Linked DNA regions of Homo sapiens: region 1 is linked to region 2. Evidence: promoter capture Hi-C in human tissues and cell types (Jung and others, 2019). All regions are on one chromosome and are shown on one strand. Each heading gives the region's core, a stretch centred on a gene start or on the middle of the fragment in contact. The rest is flanking DNA. Distances are from core to core; before and after follow the strand shown. Region 1 holds the start of DOHH (deoxyhypusine hydroxylase). Region 2 holds the start of TLE2 (TLE family member 2, transcriptional corepressor).

Region 1 (6,521 bases), core at 3,617-6,116, 470 kb after region 2:
CTAAGGCAGGAGAATCACTTGAACCCGGGAGGCAGAGGTTGCAGTGAGCCAAGACGGCACCACAGTACCCCAGCCTGGGCGACAGAGTGAGACTCTGACTCAAAACAAACAAATAAATGGTTTAAAACAAAAAATCAAAGGGATAGTACTTCCTGATGGGTGGAATTTATATGAAATTCAAATCTCAGCATTTACAAATGAAGTTTGTTTTTTGTTTTTTCACAGACAGGATCTCACTCTGTTGCCCAGGCTGGAGTGCGGTGGCACGATCATGGCTCACTGCAACCTTGACTTCCCGGGCTCCAGCGATTCTCCCGCCTCAGCCTCCCAAGTGGCTGCGACTACAGGTGCATGCCACCATGCCTGGCTAATTTTTGTATTTTTTCTAGAGACAGGGTTTTGCCATGTTGCCCAGGATGGTCTTGAACTCCTGAGTTCAAACGATCCACCTTCCTGGGCCTCCCAAAGTGCTAAGATTACAGGCCTGAGCCACCGCCCCCTGCCCAGTTGAGGTTGTCTGGGCACACAGCCTTAGCCATTTGGTGACAGATGACCTGCGCTGGCTTTATTGAGTCGCTGTCTGGCTGCAGAGCTGCAGGTATTTACTATCTGGTGCTCTATGGGGCAGTTGACCACTCTGATATTTATCACCTGAGTGAGGAAGGGGACACGTGGGGTCATGAAGAAGTGAGGCAGGAGGGAGCAGGTGCCCGGGACACAGACAGGTGCTCACCTGCCTCATGGCGCACCATGGGCTCCTGACGGGTGTCTTGCAGCACGTCCACCAGCATGGGGATGGCGCGGGCATCCTGCATCTGGCCCAGGCAGTAGGCCAGCTCGTGCTTGAGCAGGGCGGAATCGTCATCGAAGGCCTGGCTGATCCATGCAATGGCGCCTGGGCCGCCGAGCCCACGCAGCGTGAACAGCGCCCGGAAGCGGGCCTGCAGGGGCTGCTTGGGGTCCACCAGCGTCTGCCCGATGGCATCCACCTCCTGCTCCGTCACCATCGTGCTGTCAATGGGTCCCGGCCTTCCACAACCCTGCTCAGGCTAAACCTGGGGACGCGGGGATGTAAGAACCTGTGGCAGAAAAATGAGAGCCCAGGTTAGAAGCCCCCTTCACCAGTGCGTTGTCTGTTCCTAGGACCTGGGTGGGGCAAATTCCTACCCACTGACCAACCTGAGCATCTACGCTGAAAGCTCAGCTCCAACCTCCCTACTAGCTGTGCAGCCTTCCGTAAGTTGCTTTCCCTCTCTGGGCCTCAGTCTCTGCACTGCCTCTCGCCTATAGGCCTATCAGAAATGACCTCCACTGTCTGCTCTCCACACAGCAGCCAGAGGGACAGCTGACCCCCAAAATGGCCCTAGCGATCCCCACCCAATATTCAAGGCTTTATATAGCGATCCCCACCCAATATTCAAGGCTTTATATAGTCCTCTCCCACTCTGAACAGGGCTGACCCATGTGAATGCCAAGAAGATGGAACAGAGCAAGACTTCCAAGGTTAGGGCATAAAAAGCACAACAGTCTCATCCTTGTTCTCTCTCTAGGGGAAGCCAGTGACCATGTTGTGAGGATGCTCAAGCAGTCTTTTGTAGGGGCCCACGTGGCAAAAAACTGAGCCCTCCCACCAACAGCCATGTGAGAGAAGTGGGCTGGCAGCAGCTCGTCCAGCCCCAAGCGAACCTTCAGATGATGCAGCCCCAGAGCGTCTCCACTGAGGCCTTACCAGAGGCCAGACCCAGAGCCAGCCAGCTAAGCCAGGCCCAGAGCAACTGTGTGCGACACTGTTTACTGTTGTTGAAGGTAACCAAGTATGTTTTTTTGTTTGTTTTTGAGACAGGATCTTGTTCTGTCGCCAGGCTGGAGTACGGCAGCATGATCACGGCTCACTGTAGCCTCGAACTCCCAGTCTCAAGTGATCCTCCTGCCTCAGACTTCCTAGTGGCTGTGTCTACAGGCACACACCAGCATGCCCAGCTAATTTTTTTTTTATTATTTGTAGAGATGGGGTCTCACTTCTATGTTGCCCAGGCTGGTCTCCAACTCCCAAGCTCAAGTGATCATCCTGCCTCAGCCTCCCAAAGCATTAGGATTACAGGCATCAGCCACTACCCCCAGCCATTATGGGGATTTTTGTTACACAGCTTAGATAACAGATTCAGAAGTACTTTCAATATGTAAACTGGACCATATCACTCCCTTGCTTAAAATCCTCCTATGCCTCCTCACTCAACTACTTGACAGTCCCAAAGGCCCTTCATGACCATCTCCCATCACCTCTTCCCTCTCTAGCTCCACTCCAGCCACACAGGCCTCCTCGCTGTTCCTCCAACACGCCAGGCCCAGTGCAGCCCTAGGGCCTTTGCATTTGCTGTGATCTCCATGAGGAACATTCTTCCCTAGATGTCCCCACGTAGCAGGCCAGGCCTCACTAACACAGGCCTCCATAACTGTTTCAGCACTGACTGAGTGGTTAAGTTAAACATTAAAAGCTAAAAGAGCCAGTGCCCTCATACAAAGGCTGGAATGTAACAAAAGCCCATGAAGAGTTTTGCCCAGGCCTTTCCTGGGCCTTAAGGCATGACAAGATAATGAAGGAATTTTTTTTTTTTTGAGACAGAGTTTCGCTCTTTTGCCCAGGCTGGAGTGTAGTGGCATTATCTCGGCTCACCACAACCTATGCTTCCAGGGTTCAAGTGATTCTCCTGCCTCAGCCTCCCGAGTATCTGGGATTATAGGCATGCACCACCATGCCCGGCTAATTTTGTATTTTTAGTAGAGACAGGGTTTCTCCATGTTGGTCAGGCTGGTCTCGAACTCCCAACCTCAGGTGATCCACCCGCCTCAGCCTCCCAAACTGCTGGAATTACAGGCTTGAGCCACCACACCCAGCCAATAACGAAGGAATTCTTAATGTGACCCGTTTAGGATGAAACAAGTTTTACTGGGTGTCTGAAGAACTCCCCAAACCTCCATGATTTAGCAGGAGACAAGATAAGGATGATCACCCCAGCACCTGGACCCACTGGAGATGAGATAAGGGTGATCACCCCAGCACCTGGACCCATTTAGATTAAGTAAATTTACTGAGGTTCCAAAGGAAAGTCTTCAGGATTCAGATCTTAGTTATAGATTAAAAGAAGTTAGTCACTTTAAGTCTTTAGATGGATGCTCAGTTACATGTAGATGGAGAGCTTAGAGGGTATATAAGCTCTGGAAAACTTTGTCATTTTGAGTTGGTCTGGCGATATTTTCCAGGCCTTCTCCCTGTAACCGGTTACAGAAATAAAAACTCTCTTCCTCCCCAGTTAATCTGCATCTCGTTATTGGACCATGAGAAATAGCAGCCCGACCCTCAGTTTGGTCCAGGAACACCCGTGCTCATCCTCTTGCTTTCCTGGGTCTCCAACATCACTTCCTCATGGAAGCCTTCCCTGATCACAATGGACAATGTTACTCTTCCATCTCTTTTCACTTATTCAGCTTTATTTTTCTCCACGGCGCCTAAGACTCCTAGATATCATATTGGAAAGTATTGGTTTAGTTGCTTGTGATTGGTCTTATCCCTCATTAGAATAGAACTCTGAAGGCTGGGACTGAGTCTATCTTGGTCACTGTTGTATTCCCAGCACTTAGTGCAATGACCTGCACGCAGTAGGGCCTCAATAAAAACAATAACCGGCTGGGCGCGGTGGCTCACGCCTGTAATCCCAGCGCTTTGGGAGGCCGAGGTGGACAGACCATCTGAGTTCAGGAGTTCGAGACCAGCTGACCAACATGGTGAAACCCCATCTCTACTAAAAATACAAAAATTAGCTGGGCGTGGTGGTGGGCGCCTGTAATCCCAGCTACTCGGGAGGCTGAGGTAGGAGAATCGCCTGAACTCGAGAGGCGGAGGTTGCAGTGAGCCGAGATCGTGCCATTGCATTCCAGACTGAGCTACAAAGCAAGACCCTGTCTCAAAATAAATAAATAAAATAAAAACGACAACCGTGACAATAGCAGCTGACACTTATGTAGCATTTGCTACGCGCCAGGCACTCCATGCTCTTTACATTCATTAATTCATTCGATCTACATCACTACCCTGTGAGGTAGTTACTAAGATTGTCCCCATTTTACAGGTGAGGAAACTGAGGCACAGTTTGGGACTGTGCTTGGGAACTTGCTTGGGAGCAGCGTGAAGAGTTAGGAATCCAGGAAGTCTGGCTCCAGAGTCGGGCTCTAAACCACCAACGCTTTGTTGAATGACTTAGGATAAAAGAACACAGCCAAGGGGAGAAGGGACCCCTCTCTTTCCAGATCGGCTGAGAACCTGGCGGATGCTTCATCTCAAGACAGGCTGGCTATGGCATGCTGGCAGCCCTCTCTGGTGAACAGTGGCGTCAGCAAGGCTGCCTGGGCTTGACGAGGGCAGTGTAGCCACCTAAGCACAGGTGACCATCAAAGGAGAGTGACACCTTTAAAGAGGGGTCATCAGAAACCAGAGGGCAGGCCTGTGCGAGCTGGCAGGGCACTGGGGACCATTGAGACCCAACCGTACGACATAGGAGCTTCAGGACGTGAGGTGGGCACTCTTTCATGTAAAAAATCCCAGAGGAAAGAGATCGCCGGGACTCGAGACCCCTTAACCCGCCCCATCCACAGTCAACGAATCCCTGAGACCGGATTCCCTAACGAGGCGCTCCCGGTGCCACCGCCCGCCAGACCCGGGCCCCACACCGTGATCGCCGCCTCCGGGACGCCTCACCGAGCTCTGGAGACTCAGGACCCGTCGGCCCGGCCAGTAACCGCAGGCGCCTCTGCCACCACCGCTTCACCTGCCGCGACGCCCGCAGTGCGGTCTGGGGGCCGCCATTTTCTCGCCCACGTGACCGTGCCGGACGGCACCAACGCAGCCGCGGGTGAGACCTAGTGAGAGGCTCCGTGCATGAGGGAGGCCCGGAAGGCTGAGTCGGTGCTGGTGCCACAGCTCATGCAAACGCAGGAACAGTATTCCTAGTGCGTTCTTCGGGGAAGGGGACGGGCAACGTATGCCCTTTCATGGGAAAAAATTCTCTCCAACCTCCCCACTGCGGTACAAGAAGTGAGACTGGTTTGTGCCGATTCAGCGCCCTGCCTGGGCTGGCTAGCAACGGAGCATGCGCAGTGTTTCTAGGCGTGGTCAGACTCCAGAGGTGTTGGCCAATGGGCTCAGGGAGCTCGAACCTTAAGTAGGTGAGGAATAAAAAAAGGAAGAAATGCAGTCGTTCATTCATTCATGTATGTAATAAATAGTACATGGCCTTGAGGACAAGAGAGCCTTCAGCCCTTACCCTCGTACGCCTCCCAGTGTTGTTATAGAGACAGAAAATAACACGATAAGTAAATGCAATACCTATTAGATGGTGAAAAAGGCTAACGAGAAAAAATTCGGTAGCCAAGGGCGGTGTATGTATAGGGTGTGCAGTTTCAGGAAGGGTGGCCAGAATCTGAGGTGGTGACATCTGAAGAAAGACCTGAAAGAGGCCGGGTACGGTGGCTCACACCGGTAATCCCAACACTTTGGGAGGCCGAGGTGGGTGTTATCACTTGAGGTCAGGAGTTCGAGACCAGCCTGGCCAACATGGTGAAACCCCCATCTCTACTAAAAATACAAAAAGGCTTCAGCTTCCCGAGTAGCTGGGATTACAGGCATGCAACACCACACCAGCTAACTTTTTGTATTTTTAGTAGAGACAGGGTTTCACTATGTTGGCCAGGCTGGTCTCAAACTCCTGACCTCAGGTGATCCACCTGCCTTGGCCTCCCAAAGTGCTGGGATTACAGGCGTGAGCTACTGTGCCCTGCTTGCAATCTCTTATTTTTAAAATGTGGGTGACTGCCAGGAGTGGTGGCTCATACCTGTAATCCTGGCACTTTGGGAGGCTGTGGGGTGAGAGGATGATCGATTGAGCCCAAGATTCCAAGACCAGCCTGGGCAATGTGGTAAGCCCCCGTCTCAACAGAAAAAAAATTTTTTTTAATTTGGCTGGGCGCAGTGGCTCAGCCTGTAATCCCAGCTACTTGGGTGGCTGAGGCAGGAGAATCGCTTGAGCCTGGGAGACACAGGTTACAGTGAGTTGAGATCCTGTCACTGCACTCCAGCCTGGGCAACAGAGCAAGACTCCATTTCCAAAAAAAAAAAAAAAAAATCAACTGTGCCTGGTGGCTCATGCCTGTAGGCCCAGCTACTCAGGTGGCTTGATAGCTTGAGTCCAGGAGTTCAAGGATCCAGTGAGCTGTAATCACACCACTGGATTCCAGCCTGGGTGACAGAGCAAGACCCCATCTCAAAAAAAAAAAAAAAATGAGCAATTAATAAAAAAACATGGCTGGGCATTGTAGCTCACGCCTGTAATTCCAGCACTTTGGGAGGCCAAGGCAGGTGGATCACTTGTGGTCAGGAGTTCAAGACCAGCATGGCCAACATGCTGAAACCCCATCTCTACTAAAAATACTAAAATTAGCTTGGCCTAGTGGCGGGTGCCTGTAATTCC
Region 2 (7,330 bases), core at 4,804-7,303:
GAGGTTTCACCATACTGGCCAGGTGGGTCTCAAACTCCTGACCTCATGACCCGCACGCCTTGGCCTCCCAAAGTGCTGGGATTACAGGCGTGAGCCACTGGGCTCGGCCTACCTAAACTTCTTGCGGCTCTTGCCTTTCTCTAGACCACCTCGTCCCCACTTTCCGCTGCAGATGCTCTTTATGTTCTGTGTCTACACAGGACCTCTCCCCACCCCAAGCTTCCAGAAATCTCAGACTCAGTGGAATCTGAACAAACTGAGCATCTCCCCTCTGGGTTTGGTCCTCAAGGCATCAAGGATCCTCCCAGTGTATCCACTCTGAAGTAGAACTATCTTTCACGTCTCTCTGAAGAGAGAACGTACCACACAGAAACAGGGACAGTGCAGGCTGGGTACAGTGGCTCACACCTGTAAACCCAACACTCGGAGCCTGACACGGGCGGATTGCTTGAGTCCGGGGGTTCGAGACCAGCCCGGGCAACATAGGGAGACCCGTCTCTACTAAAAATACAAAAATTAGCCGGGCGTGGTGGTGCACGCCTGTAATCCCAGCTACTCAGGAGGCTGAGGCATGAGAATCGCTTGCACCCAGGAGGTGGAGGTTGCAGTCAGCCAAGATCATGCCACTGCACTCCAGCCTGGGTAACAGAGCAAGAATCCATCACACACACACACACACACAAAAGAAAAGAAAAAGAAAAAAGAAACAGGGACTGTGCAAAGGTACTGAGGATGAAAGGAACCTGGGGCACTCTCAGAAGAGCTAACTTTTTTTTTTTTTTTTTTTGAGATGGAGTCTAACTCTCTCACCCAGGCTGGAGTGCAGCGGCGCAATCTCTGCTCACTGCAACCCCCGCCTCCTGAGTTCAAGCAATTCTATTCTCCTGCCTCAGCCTCCCGAGTAGCTGGGATTACAGGCAAACACCACCATGCCCGGCTAATTTTTTTTTTTAAGTTTTAGCAGAGACAGGGTTTCACCATGTTGGACAGGCTGGTCTCGAACTCCTGACCTCTGGTGATCCACCTGCCTCAGCCTCCCAAAATGCTGGGATTACAGGCAGGAGCCACCGCACCTGGCCGAATTACAGTCCATTTTAACCATTTGTAAGTGCACAGCTCAGCAGCATAAAGCACACACACGGTTGTGCAGCCATCCCCAGCACCATCTCCAGAATTTTCCCATCTTCCCAAACTGAATTTCTGTCCCCATAAAACTCTCACTCCCCGTCCCCTCCCCAACCCCTGGCACCCCCCATTCTGCTTTCTGTCTCAGTGAACCTGACGACCCTGGGACCTCCTAGGAGTGGATCACCCAGTGTTTGTCCCTCAGTGACTTCTTCTAGCAAGACGGTAGGGTTAACTTTCATCAGGTGCTGAGTAAGCGTACCCATCATCTCCAGCACCCTGGGTGTATGAGCTCATCTCAACTTCACACCTACGCTACTGAAAAAACAGAGACAAGTGTCCTGCCTGAGGCCACACAGCCAGGATTCAGACCCAGGCAGCCAACTTGCAGGGCTTGAGGGGGTCAGCTCTATGCCTTGCTTCCCATCAAGGGGGAAAACAGCCCCCAGTCCTCACCCTCAGCCAACACCTCCCTCCATCCCTGCAGCCCCTGCCCCAGCGGGATGCCTGGCCTCAGGGCTGCGGGACTACTGCAGTGAAAATGGTCTCTATCCGTGCTGCAGGCTACGCGGCAGAATCAGTGCCTGGGGCGTCCTCGCCCAGACCTACCCCCTCCCGTCTTCTTCCGGCTCCCTTCCCCTCCTCCCCCCACCCCCAGGCCCACTCACCTCCTGGGTCAGGAAGGGGATAATCTGAGCGCAGATACCGCTCAGACGCTTCACAATCTCCGCCTGGCAGGAAGCAATGAGAGGAAGCTTGGAGCGGGGTAGAGATTTGCAACCCAGCTCTGGACTCCCAGGCGGACCAGGTGTTGGCAAAGCCGAAGGGTTGGGGAGGTGACGCCCGCAGGTGCACAGAGGGAACTCAGGCTAGCATGGCATGGGCCGAGGTGGGATTCAGAGCCCCACCAGGCTGCGTGCTCAGCTGAGCGAGGCCCAGGGTGGCCTGGAGCTGGGAAGACCAGGGCTGAGGTCCTACGAGTCACAGATACACCACCCGCCAGACGCACACCCGCCAGGGATTTGCAGGAGGCAGACGCTCAGACACCCAACTCAGACGCAGACACTCAGAGGTGCTGGGCTCAGCTGAAACAAAGGAAAGGGGCCTCCGCCTGGAGTCCCAGATTCCAGCCCCGGCTTGGCCCACGTCTGTCCCAGGCAAGGCCCCTTTCTTGGTCTCCTCCGCTTCCCAGGACTGATCTACCAGCTGGGGATGCCTCCAGGTGGAGATCTCAGCACGCCACACTCAAGGGAAGGATTTCATCTGGAGAGGGTCTGGGCCCAGGTGCCCCAAAGAGGCTGAGCAGACGAGAAGGCGTGTGGGTGGGGAAGGGGGCGGGCATACAATGGCCACGGACTTTGCCTCTGCCTGAGTTACAGGTGTGCTGTGTGTCTGGCGAAGTCTGTGTCTCCTATTCCCACCAGGAGGGTGGAACTGGGATCCCAGGGTGTCCCGCACCCCATAAAGGGGGGTCTATTGCGTGGACCCATGGGACCACGCCATGCTTCAGCAGACAAGCCCCCTCCTGCCCACATCAGAACCAACAGAACCCCCACACATGCAGGAAAGCATGCCAGGGTGGGCAACCCCAGGCACCCCACACTCCCAGCCCACCCCCTTCTCCTTCCCAGCCACCGGGAAGTCCCAATACAAGGTTCTGCTCATTGATTCTAATATTCTGATAGAATCTAGGAGCCCATGAAGCTCAGAAGTTTGGGACCCCTCTCATCCCTTTAGAAACCACTGGCCAGTCTCAGGATCTCAGGATTAAGCATGGACCACTAAAGTCAATTTTAGAATCTTTGGGTCTATTGGCCGGGCAAGGTGGCTCACTCCTGTAATCCCAGCACTTTGGGAGGCCGAGGCAGGTGGATCACCTGAGGTCAGGAGTTCAAGACCAGCCTGGCCAACATGGAGAAACCCCGTCTCTACTAAAAATACAAAATATTAGCCAGGCATGGTAGCAGGCGCCTGTAATCCCAGCTCCTCGGGAGGCTGAGGCAGGAGAGGCGCTTGCACTCAGGAGGCAGAGGTTGCAGTGAGCCAAGATCAGGTCATTGCACTCCAGCCTGGGCAACAAGAGTGAAACTTTGTCTCAAAATTTAAAAAAAAAAAAAAAAAAAAAAAATCTTTAGGTCTATCTCAGAACCTTGAGATCAGAAGTTCGGGAATAGCCTCAGAACCTTTTAACACATCTCAGCACATAGATATGATAATCGCAGAACCCTGAGGTCTATCTCTGAACCCTGAGGTCAATCTCAGAACCCTGAGGTCTATCTCTGAACCCTGTCTATCTCAGAACCCTGAGGTCTATCTCTGAACCCTGATGTCTATCTCAGAACCCTGAGGTCTATCTCTGAACCTTGAGATCACAAGTTCAGGAACACCTCAGAACCTTTTAACACATCTCAGTACACAGATAGGACAATCTCAGAACCCTGAGGTTTATCTCTGACCCTTGAGGTCTATCTCTGAACCCTGAGGTCTATCTCAGAACCTTGAGGTCTATCTCAGAACTCTGAGGTCTATCTCTGACCCTTGAGGTCTATCTCTGAACCCTGAGGTCTATCTCAGGACCTTGAGGTCTATCTCAGAACCCTGAGGTCAATTTCAGAAATTTGAGGTCTATCTCAGAACCCTGAGGTCAATCTCAGAGCCCTGAGGTCTATCTCAGAACCTTGAGGTCTATCTCAGAAAACTGAGGTCAATCTCAGAACCGTGAGGTCTATCTCAGAACACTGAGGTCAATCTCAGAACCCTGAGGTCTATCTCTGAACCTTGAGGTCAATCTCAGAACCCTGAGGTCTATTTCAGAACCCTGAAGTCTGTCTCAGAACCTTGGATCACACTGAGAAGCTCCAGAAGAGGCTCAGAGCCTTACGACACTGGAGTCAATCTCAAAGCCCTGAAGACAGCCACAGAGTTTTGAGGTCTATTTTGGAGTAGTGGGGTCACAGTCTGAACCATGGCATCAAATTCAGGGCCTGGAGAACAATCTTGGAACCTTCCAGCCAATCACACTGAGACCAATCTCAGAAGCTTCAAAGCAGCAACAGAACCTGGGGTCCATCTCAAAACTTCAGACTTTCTGGGTTGAAAGGGACCTCTAAGAGTGGCCATCCAGCTCCCTCCTAGGACAGAAGTCACTTCCACAGCCTCCCTGGCCTGGCTGCCCTGCCTCTGCTATGTGCCCTCCTTGATGGGGATGCCTGGTGGCCCCTGCCCACTGCCTGCATCTCTGCTGGACGCTCCAACTGCTAGATACTGTCTTCAGAAGGTGGGACTCATTTTCCTTCCACGAGGCTGAAATCTGTCTTCCTGGTCCCAGATGGGCCCTCTGTGACCTCTGCGGAGATTTCAGGATGAGACCCGTGTTCCCTAGGTCTGCTCTGGCCCCGGCTGCCCACTCTGGGTCCTTCTCAGGGCTTCCAGACCCCCACCCTCCCTCCTGAACACGCGTAACCCCAACCCAGTTACCTGCTTATGCATTTCAATGTTGAGCCCGTACGACATCTCATAATACTGCAAAGGAAAAACCAAGTAAGAACGTCTAGGGTGGAGATGGGTGCCCTCCTCCAGATAGGTGATGCCAGGGTCTTCCAAGAGTCCCCAGGTTCAGGGGAATCACAGCAGGAAGCAGAGCCCCCCCCAGCTCCACGGGGTCCCAGAGGAGGAAGCGGGGGCTCTGCCTGGAAGGGCCCCCTCTACTCTCCCCAGAGAGGCAGGGCAGGTAGGAAGTGTCCAGAGGCCCTGGCCCGACAGAGACTCCCATCAGGCGAGGGGTCCTCCCTGTCTCCCCATTCCCAGAGCTGGGAGGACCCTCCTAGAGAGCCTGAAATCCCAACCTGCCCAATGTACAGACGGGGAAGACGAGGTTCGGAGTGGGGCAGGGACCTACCCCAGAGTCCACCGTGACTCAAAGCCCTGCCCGCCTCTCCCCTCACCCTGGCATCATAAGTGCCCTCACCATGACATAATGTCGCTGCATTTCCGTCTTCTCGCTGGCCAGCTTCTCACATTCTAGCTTGAGGCTGAGAAGAAGAGAGAGGGCAAGGGGCTCCCACCCGCCCCATGTGGGCCGGCTTCCAAAGTGAGAGGCTGGATCTCCCCCTCCCGACTTCCTTACAGACCTCCCCCCACCTCCTGTCCCAGTCCCTCCCCGCCCCTTCCTGGGCTCCAAATGCCCCAGCTCTGACTGTCCCCAGACCCCTCTGCACCTGCGCTTCCACCTGGAGGCCTTTGTCGCGCCCCCCCTCCAACCGGGAGCCCCTCCTCCCCGCCCTATACCCCGGAGGCCTCGCCCCGCCCCGGCGCCCAGGTGAACTCCCGCGGCCCCTGGGGCGGCCCCCCTCACCTGTGGTATTGAGCCTGAAGAAACTGGAATTCTTCTTTGATGCGGTCGCAGATCTCCAAGATCGAGAACTTGAAGGGCTGGCCGGACTGGAGCGGGGTCTGGGGGGGGTGTGGGGGAAACGTCAGGGTCTGAGTTCCCGGACACTGGGGGCCCCCTCCCCGCAGTCCGCACTCACCGGGTGCCTTCCCTGGGGGTACATCCTGCCGATCCGAAAAGCCCCCCAGGCGCCACCAGAGCTTGATGATATGGAGGCGGCAAGAGTGGGGGAGGCTGAAGTGGGGTGGTGGGGAGGCTGCCCGAAGAAAGAGGGAGGAGGGAGAAGCGGCGCGGGGCAAGGGACCCTGGAGTCCCTGGCGCGCCCCCAAGCGCGCGCGCCCGGGGTCGTGGGAGCCCCTCCCCGGGTTGGGGTGCGCGGGGCGAGCGGGGCGGGCAGGGGCAGCGGCCGGGGCGGGAGCGCGGCGAGGGCGGCCGCGGCAGCCGGCGCAGAAGGTCGGGCGCGCCGCGGCCGGGTTTCGGTGGCGGCGGCGCGGGCGGCGGGCCCCGCGCGGAGCCGCCTCCCTCCGGCGGGGCTCGGCCGGGAGCCGCGGGCTGAGCCGCCTTAAGGTGGCGCCGCCGCCCCCACGCGCCCGCGGCCCGCCCCGCGCCCACCCCCGCGCACCGCCCCTCCCCGCGCCCGCGCCCCCCCCGGCCCCCGGGCACCCGCCCCCTTCCTTCAGTCCCTGGGCCGTTGGGGAAACTGAGGCCGGGTGGGGAGGCGCCCAGTGCCTTAAAACAGGGTCCCCACCCCCTCCCGGAGGGGCGGGAGAAGAAAAACCAGTGAAGAAATTCACACCGTGTTACCCACCGTGGGAGCGGGGGGGGGGGCTTGCGGGGAGCGGGGACCAGTCTGGAGTCGGAAATGGCTTTTCTGAGCAAGTGACATTGGGTTGAGATTGAAGGGTCAGCAGGACGCAGCCTTGCCAAGCGCTGGCAGGGAACCCTGCCAGAAAGGGAATCTCACAGCAAACACTGCTTCCCAGATCATGCCGGGCCCTCGCCCTCTGGGGGCCTCAGTAGTCTCTGCAAAAGGTCAGGGGTGGTGCGCTATCTTTAGGGTTTAATTTTTTGCAGAGATAGGGTCTCCCTGTGTTGCCCAGGCTGGAGTACAGTGGGGCAATCATGGCTCACTGCAGCCTCGAACTCCTGGGCTCAAGCGATCCTTCCCCCTCAGCTTCTCCAGTAGCTGGGACTACAGGTGTGCACCACCACGCCCAGCTAATTTTTTAATTTTTTGCAGAGATGGAGTAGGGGGGCGTCTCACTATGTTGCCCAGGCTGGTCTTGAACTCCTGGACTCAAGCCTCTCTCTTCGGCCTTCCAAAGTGCTGGGATTACGGGCGGGAGCCACCGCACTGGGCACTGCACTTAAATGAGATAGTGCATGAACGCTGTCAGCCTCTCCCTACACAGAGCAAACTTCCACAGATGGGAATTGTGTTCCTACTGCCATCACCAGTGGACTGGGCTGTCTCCCCTCTCAGACTGGGTTTCTTGAAGGCAGGAGCCGTGTCCCACTCAGAACTGGAAGAACCACAGCTCTGCCATCAGACTCAAGTCTCTCCCACGGCAAAGGCTCCAGCCCCGACCAGAGACCACAGACATCCAGCCAGCATCCTTCAGGCCCACCCGGGGAGTGGGAAGTTCTTATTCTCTTTGGAGAAACCTCAGGAGAGGTTTGTGAAGTCAATCAACAAACGTGTACTAAATGCATACTGTGGACCACACACTGCTGTAGACACTGGGGCACAGCTGGGAACAAAACAGAGAAAAATCCATGCCCCTTGATGACACTTGGACTTGTGTCCTTAGGTGA

What was found. The method cuts DNA at HindIII sites, captures the fragments that hold promoters and counts their contacts. A contact is called where the count stands out against the background at its distance.
Region 1: the fragment with the promoter of DOHH here is called in contact with the fragment with the promoter of TLE2 in region 2 in 1 of the 25 tissues and cell types used here (dorsolateral prefrontal cortex).

Annotation. Positions count from the first base shown.
Region 1 is chr19:3,495,808-3,502,328 of GRCh38, forward strand. It overlaps DOHH (deoxyhypusine hydroxylase), which reads right to left and starts at 4,867. Exons shown (of 5, transcript NM_001145165.2): 1 at 4,754-4,867; 2 at 734-1,079. The coding sequence starts at 1,007. LOC105372245 (a long non-coding RNA gene) reads left to right here and starts at 308. Exons shown (of 4, transcript XR_936262.3): 1 at 308-347; 2 at 1,144-1,236; 3 at 1,551-1,806; 4 at 4,128-5,244. RefSeq lists an enhancer at 4,869-4,978. The HindIII fragment of the contact is 49,740 bases long and covers 1-6,521 here.
Region 2 is chr19:3,023,227-3,030,556 of GRCh38, forward strand. TLE2 (TLE family member 2, transcriptional corepressor) reads right to left here and starts at 6,054. Exons shown (of 20, transcript NM_003260.5): 1 at 5,655-6,054; 2 at 5,480-5,577; 3 at 5,093-5,156; 4 at 4,603-4,647; 5 at 1,794-1,856. The coding sequence starts at 5,678. The HindIII fragment of the contact is 30,131 bases long and covers 3,023-7,330 here.